Linked DNA regions of Homo sapiens: region 2 is linked to region 1. The links are contacts of gene promoters, found by promoter capture Hi-C in blood cells and fetal thymus (Javierre and others, 2016). All regions are on one chromosome and are shown on one strand. The core of a region is centred on a gene start or on the middle of the fragment in contact, and the rest is flanking DNA. Distances in the headings are between cores, read along the strand shown. Region 1 holds the start of LINC01548 (long intergenic non-protein coding RNA 1548). Region 2 overlaps SYNJ1 (synaptojanin 1).

Region 1 (4,838 bases), core at 1,948-4,447:
AACAGCATCATCAAAAGTAAGGGCATATACATTTACCCCCTCTGCCTCACATTTTGTGCAAGACTACTTGAAGTAATGGAATTTTGCTAGAAATTTCTTGTTAATGTCTTCCCTTACATTCTGCAAAATGTTCCCAAGAACTGCTGAAATACTGTTAGGATTGTTGACTACTTTTTTTTCTTTGTAATCAGTTTCTATTGAAGAAGAGTCATTGAATTAGCGGGGTAATTTACTATCACTCATTTTTGGCAGCCTTGAGCGTGTATTTGCAGAACCACGAGATAACGGCAAAGAAAGTCCTTGGACACAGGCTCTGTGAGCATCACATCTCTCCAACTGGACCCGTGGGCGCTGCAGTGAGCATATATGTCCTAAAGGGATATGGCACCAACCTTGTGAATTGTTTGCTTGTGTTTTTCTAACATTTCTACTACTTAGTTTCAATTACATTTTTCCTAGCATGGAGTAATAAAAACCTTTTATAAAGGACAATTTCAAGCATATTTTTGAAAATTAATTTCAAAAGTAGACAGTATAGTTTTATGAATTTCTATGTCCCCACTAGCCAGTTCCAACAATTATTCCCACACAGCTGGTCTTGTCTCATCTATAATCCCAGTCTGCTAAGGTATTTTGAAGCAAATCCAGACTTTATATTATTCTATCCATAAGTATCTTAGAAGATAAAAGAAAATGACTTTTAAAAAACAATAACAATGTAGAACAAAGGACATTTATTTTGGATCCTGGCTTGTGGATGGGAGATAATTCCAGAATTATTTTGTCACTATTTACTTGCTACCTGGGCTGTGCTTGCCCCATTCAACAAAAGAGTGTACATTAGCTATTCTGTTTCTATGCTCTGGTCCTGTATTTTGAAAAGAGGGTTTATGTATTCAACAGATATTTGCTAATTCCTACTACAAGCCAGGACTGTGCTATGCACTGGGGATTCAGAGATAAAACACCCAAACTGGGAGAGAATCAGAAAAATCAGCCTCAATACAAACATAAATATAAATACAGCCTGATCCACTTTATGGCAGTGTTAAGTACAGGTTGTTTTGTGTCTGAGATGTATTTCTTTCTCTTGCCCACAATTTAAAAAGCCACCTTGATTGTGATTACATTTCAAGTGTTAATTAGGAATCAATTTAGGCCATATAATATGTAGCCTATTTTAGGTATCTAAGGTTTATCAGAAATTAACTCATTAACTAACGAAGATGCCTTTATCAGCGCCTGCAACTCCAGTGAAACAGTTTGAATTGTTTCCCTTCAATTTCCTCCCCAACTCTGCACTCACTGCTCTGATTTGGTAGCGGAAACACATCAAATGAGTTCTGTTCTTGCAAGTGAGGAAGGGACAAGAGAGGGGACACAAGATGAAAGGCAGGGAGGAGGAGAGTCTCCCAATCTCAACCTCTGGGAGTTTCACGCTTATCATCTGGGGTCCAGTTGGCATGCGGCCAGTGGGCGGTGGCAGCGGCCTCCTTGGGGCAGGAGTTCCTCACTCTTTTTCCTCCATTTGTCTCCTTGGGTCCCTGGCACCTGCTGAGTGAGAAGCCCAGATCTGTATTAGAAGCTGCTGCTCTCTGGCCCAAGAAGGGCAGCGGCCTCTGGATTAGGGAATGGAGGGATGGCTGTTCCCGGGATCACCCCTCTCCCTCTGCCTGTGTGCAGCCTTGTGTGCTCAACCCTGCACCCCAGGGGCCCTCAGACTACTATCATGAGGCCCAGGCCTTGAGCTGCAGAGCTGGTTAATTAGCGCTGGAGCCCAGGAAGCCCCATCTGTTCCCAGCACTTGTGTTGCTCTGATCTCTCCATTTCCCTGACTCCCAGGCCAGGGAGAGTTCTTGTCCTCCTACCCTGCAATCCCTGGAGATGCGCTCCCCCCAACCGCAGCCCAAAGTGCCTTTTCATGGGGCTGTAAGGCAGCTGTCACGAGGTAAATCCCACTCTTTACCCCGCCAGCAGGACAGGTAGGGACAGGTGGGAGGAATACGGGAGGAAACAGCTCCCACTGGTGACTGCCGGACCCTCTCCTCGCTGGCCGCAGACCCTGGAGCCACTTCCCTACCGTATCCAGAGCAGGCCCAGCCCCCGACAAAGGGACCTTTATATGGTGGTCCTGGAATTTTAGTTGGGTTCCCGTAAATGCAGACCCTGACAAGGTCTTGGGCACAGGAGGTTTATCTGAGGGGACTCCAGGAAGCAGGAGTCAGGGAGAAGGAAGCAGGAAACAGAAGTAGACGTCATTACTGAGATTGCTGCTGGAGGCAACAGGGGTCTTGAAGGTAAGAAACATGTCCTTACGGGAGAAGCTGCCTTGGTGGGTTTGGAAAGTGTGAAGAGTTCGCAGGCGTGCTCATCATCAACTAAGTGGACAGGTGAAAGCTGGAGGGGCTCTGCAGAAGCCCTGAGTTGCACTAAAATCTGTACTAATCCAAATAGTGGGTCTAGATTCCCTCTCCTACTCAAAATGACTTTAACTCCTCCAATTTAGCAAATATTGGTTGAACATCTCCTACTGTATTTAATGGAATGTAAGAGATCATTGACTATAAGGCACGCCATTATTTTAAGAGGCTCTAAGAAAAGAGCTTCCAACTCAGCTATGACACTCTATGAAAAGTAAGACTTTCCTAGGTCAGAAGCACAGAAGTGTAAAAAGAATGTTGGTCTCGGGATGGGTACCATGTGCACTGTAGCTTAATGGGCATAGTGGGGCATTGTGACATAGAAACTGCCCTTGCTCCCAGCAGAGGAGAAAAAGCGTGTAAAGCAATGTCAGTGATAACAAGCAAAAATAGGACAGGGGAGAAAGCCAAGAGTCTTCAGACCACAAGAGAAGGAGAGATTAATTCTGGTAGGGAGGTATCAAGGAGGCCTTCCTGGATGAGGGGGTGGCATCTGAGCTGGGCTCAGGAAAAGGTGGGGCTTGAACTATTGGGGATGAAGGGAAAGGCATTCCCGGCAAGTGGGAACAGCACAGGCAAAGGCTCTGAGAGGTCCTAGAAATAAAGTTATTGCACTTCAAGGGGGTTGTAAGATTTATGGGTGAGGATAAGGAAAAAGTAGAGAATTAGAAAAGCAGTGAACTTACCCCTTTACCCAGAAATCCCCCTCCTAAGTGCATGGCCAAGAGAAATTTGCCCTCAAGTGCACCTTTTCCCTTTAGGAAAATCCACCTGGATGGACAGCAGCAGAGGGAGGAGGAGGCAGGACAGACCAGAAGAGAGACAATGAGGTTCTGAACCTAGATGTTGGCCAAGGGAGCAGAGGAGGGCAGGTGAATGGCGCTATAGGGGATACTGTAGCAGGAGGGTTGACTGGACTCAGCAACTGGGGAGGGAGTAGGCAAAAAGAGAGCCTGGGAACTTAGGACAAGAAGCAGGGTATTTTTTTTTTTTCAAGGGAGAGGTAAGCAACAATGATTTACTTGTTCTTACACATGGAACTCTCCAGGGCACTACACCTGCATTTAAATCACTTGGCTCCTGGCACATGGCTCTCCTCCCATTTCTCTTTCTGTCCACTCCCTCTTCATTTGTCCTCTGCCCTCTTCGTATGACTGTTCCTTGGGGCCCTGTCTCCAGGTCAGGAGGCCCTCGCCCTGCAATCACCCTTCCTGGGAGCCTTCACTTCACCTGTGATCTCAAGACCTCTCCCTACTGCCTGACTCGCGCCGAGCTTATGGAACATCTTCCCTTGAGGGTCGCAGTCCATTCGATGAGGTATTTTCCCCATGAAATCCCTTATCTTTGGGAACCTCTTCTTTTCCTTGTGCGTCCTATGTGGGTGGATGGAGAACCACTCTCCACGTGGTTACTCGGTCCAGAAGGGCGGCTGTCTGTACAAATGCGCCTCTTCCTTTCACTTCCTCTATCCAACCAGCTTCTTCTGCCCACCTCCCTTTCATGCTCCTTTCACGCTCCTTTCACATGCTCTTGGCTCACCGTTTTTTTCTTTAAGTTTTTAGAGACAGGGTCTCGCTCTATCACTCAGGCTAGGGTGTGCTGGCACGACCATGGCTCACTGCAGCCTTGACCTCCTGGGCTCAAGCTATCCTCCTGCCTCAGCCTCCTGAGTAGCTGGGACCACAGGCACGCACCACCATGCCTGGCTAATTTTTTATGTTTTGTAGAGACAGGGGTCTCTTTCTTGCCCAAGCTGGTCTTGAACTCCTGGCCTCAAACAATCCTCCTGCCTTGGCTTCCCAAATTGCTGGGATTGCAGGAGTTTGCCACTGCGCCTGACCTGGCTCGCCTTTTTTGCTCCTGGGCGTTGCTCTGACAACCGCAACAAGCTGTCACCTGACAGCTGTGGCAGTGGGTATCTGCTGTGGCAGGCTTTCTGTCCAAGCCTGCGGGGACTTGCTTAGCTATACTGGCTTGTGTGTAAACTTGGAAGCTCAAGGGAGGTGGCTTTCCTTGGGGGAAAACTTTGACCAATAGGGGCAGGAGCTGATGAGCTCATCTGTCTTCCATCCATGTCTTGGGTGGACAATTCTGAGGCATCTTTCACACGCTTCCTCAGGGGGTCTCCAGGGGATCCAGTCCCAGCAGCCCATGGAGGTAACCAGGCCAATAACACCACACTGGGATGCTTCTTTCTCCTCCCACTATTTTTAAAATTTTTAATTTTTAAAACTTTTTGTTGAGATGCGGTCTCCCTGTGTTGCCCAGGCTGGTCTTGGCCTCCTGGCCTCAGGCGATTCTCCTGCCTTAGCCTCTCAAAGTGCTGGGATTACAGGTGTGAGCCACCACACCAAGCCCACCTCCCTCTTTCACTCCTCCCAGCCCCCATTGCTGTTACTTGGCATCAATTCCTAAACA
Region 2 (4,770 bases), core at 590-3,089, 520 kb after region 1:
CTTATTTTCCAAGTTCATCTTTCTTCTTCTTCTTGGGACGTACATAGCACTATTAATTAGAATGTATTTTGGCCAGGTGCGGCAGCTCATGCCTGCAATCACAGCACTTTGGGAGGCTGAGGAGGGTGGATTGCCTGAGGCCAGGAGTTCAAGACCAGCCTGTCCAACATGGCGAAACCCTGTCTCTACTAAAAGTACAAAATTTAGCTGGGCGTGGTGGTGCATGCCTGTAATCCCAGCTACTCAGGAGGCTGAGGCAGGAGAATCGCATGAACCCAGGAGGCAGAGGTTGCAGTGAGCCGAGATTGTGCCACTGCACTCCAGCCTGGGCAACAGAGCGAGGCTGTCTCAAAACAAAACAAAACAAAACAAATTTATTTCACATCATATTGTGTTTATTTTGCGTATACTTTAAATGTATTTACCATTCTTCCATTCAAATATTAAGACCTTTACAAATGTTAATTTATATTCTTATTGGATAAATACCCAAATTAGTATTGTTGGTGTATGGTTTAGTCCCAATAATTAAAGTTGAGGTAAAAAAGTAGAAGTTCCAAAAGGGTATTCTAAGAACAGAAATGAATTTAAGTAATTACGCCGAAAATTTCCTTAAACATGATTTAAAAATGCATTTGTTTGATGGCAACATTATCAAAAGAAAAAATTTTTAAATGCATTTGTTTTCTAACACAATATGCTATTCTAGCCAGTTTTTCATTAAAATGCATACCTTAGATTATAATAATATTGTAATGCCCTGTATAGCTAGGTACCACATTTAAGAGTTGAACGTCTTACAAGGTTATCTCATTTTCACATTATCTGTTCATTTGTTTACTCAGTCCACACATATTTATGTAGTACCTTTATGCCAGATACAGCTGGGTGCTGGAGATTCGACAGCTGTGGTTCTTGCCTTTCCAGAACTCATAGCTTATTGGGTGTTACGTGTAAGTAAGCAGGCAATTATAATAAAGTGACATAAATGTGATAATGAATGGTTTTGTGGTAGCTCATGGGAAAGTTGCTTAACCTGGATTTGGGAAATTGGGCAAGCTTTCCCAGAGGAATTGAAATTTAAGTTGAGAATCCAAAGACTCAGGGAGAATGGAATTAATGCTATAGAGGAGTGATCCAAGAAGAAAGCATGTGCACAGTCTAAGTGGGGATAAAGAGGATCCAAATGGATTATGGAGGGATGTTTGTGAGGGAGTAAATGAAGAAAAGAAATGCAGAGAGAGAAGTAGGTGTGGGATGGAAGATGAATTTTGTTTCGGATATGTTGAATTTGAGATGTTCATGGAGTCAGTCAAACATGAGTCTGGTGCTCAGGAAAGAGCTCTGGAGTCAAGGCAGCTCTAATAGCCTGCAAAGCATGGGCATTTGTTAATATAACTTTGGCCAATAGGATTATGACGAGACAGAAGAGAATGAATCGAATATGGAGAAATACAGACCTGGGATTGAGTATGTGGAAACACAGAGTTTAAATATAGACAGAAGAAGGCTGCCCGTGAAAAGAAAATGAGAAGAAACAATGGCAATTGTTTCTAGAAATGTCAAAGAGCCAAGAGAAATTCATGGCTTAAAAATCAAGGAAAGAAAGTGGAGCATGGAAGGGGAGTAGTCAGTGGTGTCTTGTAACACAGAAAGATGAGAAGAAATGAGGACAGAAATGTGTCCTTCTGATTTAATAACAGGAAGGGAAGCTGTTGTTGACATTTCATGAGAGTGATCTCAGAAGTGATGAAGTCAGATAGTGGTAAATTGATATGGATGGAAGGTGAAGAAGTGGAGAAAAGTGTCTGTAGACAACTCTTTAAGAAAGTTTGGGGGGAAAGAGAAGAGGGCAATTGCTCTAGGAAGATTGGAGGTCCTAGGGTGGTGGTTTTGGATGGGACAGGCTTGAGAATGCACAGTGCTAATGGAAAAGTAGAGGAGAAAGGGCTGATGGTTTGGGGGAAGGGCAAGGCAGAATAGTAGAGCAGTGTCACTGAGAAAATTAGGCTGGGTGGGGCCCATTTGTTCCATCCTCAGATACCCAAGTGACAACCATGTAATGAGACTCCAGCTTGGGGGCAGGCTGTTGAAGTAGGGGTTCCCATCTTAAGACTTCCCTCTTCTCTGTGAAGTGTTGAAGTGATCTGCAGGAGTGGGACAGCTCACAGTTTCAGGAGGGTTAAGGAGTTTTGCAGTAAAGCTCCTGAAGAGCAAAGGGTGAGGGGAAGAGCAAACCAGCAAATCATGGAATTGCCAGGCACTTTAGGCCAGAAGAGACTGAAAAGCATAATTTCAAATGTGACTGCAGTTGTCAGGACTGGGTGGTTTTCTTTAGCAGAGGCAGTCAGCAATCCAAGTGTTATCACAGAAAGATTAAACAGGGGAATCAGTGCAGGGATGGGGTTATGTCAAGCACGTGCAATGGAAGAAGAGTGAAGTAGGGTAATGTTTGAGATGAAGAACCATAGAATCTGAAGGTAGGTACAGAAGAAAGCAGAATCAGATGGAGGTAAAAGTTAGAGGGATCAAACCCTGGCTTCTGAAGAAATCAAAAGAGAAGGAGTAGCCAAGGGAGAGAACTGAAAAGCTGGGAGGCCAAAGTCAGAGTGAAGCTTTTGAGTTTATTATTTCAGAAGAGTGCAGTTCTGAGGGGTGAGGGTTAGGAGTGAAGGCGAATGTCCATAAGGATAGGACCAAGGCATTTTGCTATTGAACGAGTTGTCCACATGGACTTTGATGCCACGCAGAAAGATGGTGCGGGACCTGACTTACAGTCTTGCTCTCTGCTTAGTCCTCAGTGAGTGGGTTCAGGAAATGGAAGAATGGACGTTGGAGATGACTGTAGCAAGTGGGGGTAGAGGATGTTACATAAATTCCTGATGGCATAGCCTCAGAGCAGTAGGACTTTTTGTTCAGGGTTGGAAGACTAATGTTCTGGAATGGCAGTTAGGTTGCAAGGGTTACCTTGTGCCCACTTTCCTACCCAGAAGTAAGTGGAGATGAGGAGACCCTGGGGGAGAACCAGTGTTTACTTAATTAAAGCAAAGCGGGTCTTTGTGGGGTGAGGGTTGCAGGGAGGAGCCTTCTGGGGGAAGACTGTGTGGCTCCTGAGAGCTTGTTGACTCTGAGGCTGGACCTGGGTTAGGCAAGGGAGTGGGGCAGTTCCACAGAGCACAGTGGACAGGTTTGGAAGGAGAGCAGGAAACTTGAGTTGGCTTGCACTGGAGAAGCTGCTCTGGGGCATATTGAAAGCCCATTGGGTCACCCCAGCTCCAAGTGGTTGGTCACCTGACATCTTATTGCTCAGAGACAATAGATACCTTTACATCTTCTGAAACAAGCATTTCTACTAATTGTGGTTTTATACATGCCTTCATGCTTAATCCATGTGTGTTTGCAATGACATAATGTTCATATTTGTTTTGTGTATTTTAACTTTTTAAAACCTAAGGTGAAAAAAATCTCTGAGCAAGTTAAAATGGAGTTATCTCTGATCAAGCCTGCTTTTCCTTAGGTGATGTTGATGACTATAGTGCTGAAGTGGAGGAACTTCTTCCTCAGCATCTCCAGCCATCTTCAAGTTCCGGCCTTGGTACTTCCCCCAGCTCTTCACCCCGAACTAGTCCCTGCCAGTCACCTACAATATCAGAGGGTCCTGTACCTTCCCTTCCCATCAGACCAAGCCGAGCACCGTCAAGAACTCCTGGGCCTCCCAGTGCACAGAGTATGCATTTTATTTGAAAGTTTTGTATGGCTTCCTGTGGCCAATGTGCTTGATGTTGGAGAGTCATCGTTTAAGTTTCATACCTAGGTGATAAAGTGCACCCTGTTTTCTCCGGTACAGAATAGGAAAACTTGTAGATGATAAGCTCTCAATGGAAAGGAAACTTGCTATAACTGTCACTAGATGACAATTGTTCTTAATCTTTTTTCTATGTGGTTAGGTTTGTCTATGTCTTATAACTGATGATTTTCTATGGTATGAACCCGTTAACTATTTGAGCTTTTTCTTCTCTCTACTGGCCAGACTACAAAATGGCTTAACTCAAACAATACTTTGTGCATATCAATAGGGCCACTTAGTAAATTAGCTTTCAGCACCTGAGGCCTAGGTAAGAAGTCAGCACAGAGGTAGCATTATTGCTGCCATGGTACCAAAGGGCAGTTTAATAGTAGACTGCTTTTGTTATTCATACTGAAAATACATGCCCTTTCTTTACACCATTGTGCACATTTTATAGAACATTACACATATATATGAAGGACTGTTCCCTTCTGTCAACAGCTACTTAGAAGCTGATCTTCTTACCTCCTGTGCGCTTTTTAGGTTCTCCTATTGACGCGCAGCCAGCAACGCCGCTGCCGCAGAAAGACCCCGCCCAGCCCTTGGAGCCCAAGCGGCCGCCGCCGCCCCGCCCGGTCGCCCCTCCCACACGCCCGGCTCCCCCACAGAGACCTCCTCCGCCTTCAGGTGACAACCTTTTATTTCCATTTCTGCTAGATGTAAAATTCTTCACTCTATTTTAAAATGTTTTGCATGTTTTCCAATCTCTAGCTTCTGGATTTTACAGTTTTTTCTATCATTATTGCTATTTCTTAGCTTTTCTCTAAAGAACATGGTAGGCGCAACAGACAAGGTAGAGTGTTTGCAGAGTAGATTCCTCTAAGGTGTTTTCACAGCTGCCTTTAGCTGCCTTCTCACCAGCCAGCCAGAGAGGTTTATTTTGTTTTTGCTAATTTGATCTAGTTAGGCATGTAAACTGTTCT

What was found. The method cuts DNA at HindIII sites, captures the fragments that hold promoters and counts their contacts. A CHiCAGO score of 5 or more calls a contact.
Region 2: a contact is called between a fragment that was not itself captured here and the fragment with the promoter of LINC01548 in region 1, in 2 of 17 cell types (naive B cells and total B cells). The highest score is 5.8, in naive B cells.

Annotation. Positions count from the first base shown.
Region 1 is chr21:33,168,595-33,173,432 of GRCh38, reverse strand. It overlaps LINC01548 (long intergenic non-protein coding RNA 1548), which reads left to right and starts at 3,197. Exons shown (of 4, transcript NR_024102.1): 1 at 3,197-3,292; 2 at 3,600-3,737. LOC105372787 (a long non-coding RNA gene) reads left to right here. Exons shown (of 3, transcript XR_937675.3): 3 at 253-492. RefSeq lists an enhancer at 3,916-3,985. The HindIII fragment of the contact is 7,514 bases long and covers 1-4,838 here.
Region 2 is chr21:32,645,350-32,650,119 of GRCh38, reverse strand. It overlaps SYNJ1 (synaptojanin 1), which reads left to right. Exons shown (of 33, transcript NM_203446.3): 24 at 3,518-3,727; 25 at 4,331-4,474. Among named protein-coding and RNA genes, the nearest start is that of CFAP298-TCP10L, 35 kb to the right of the region's middle. The HindIII fragment of the contact is 1,556 bases long and covers 1,062-2,617 here.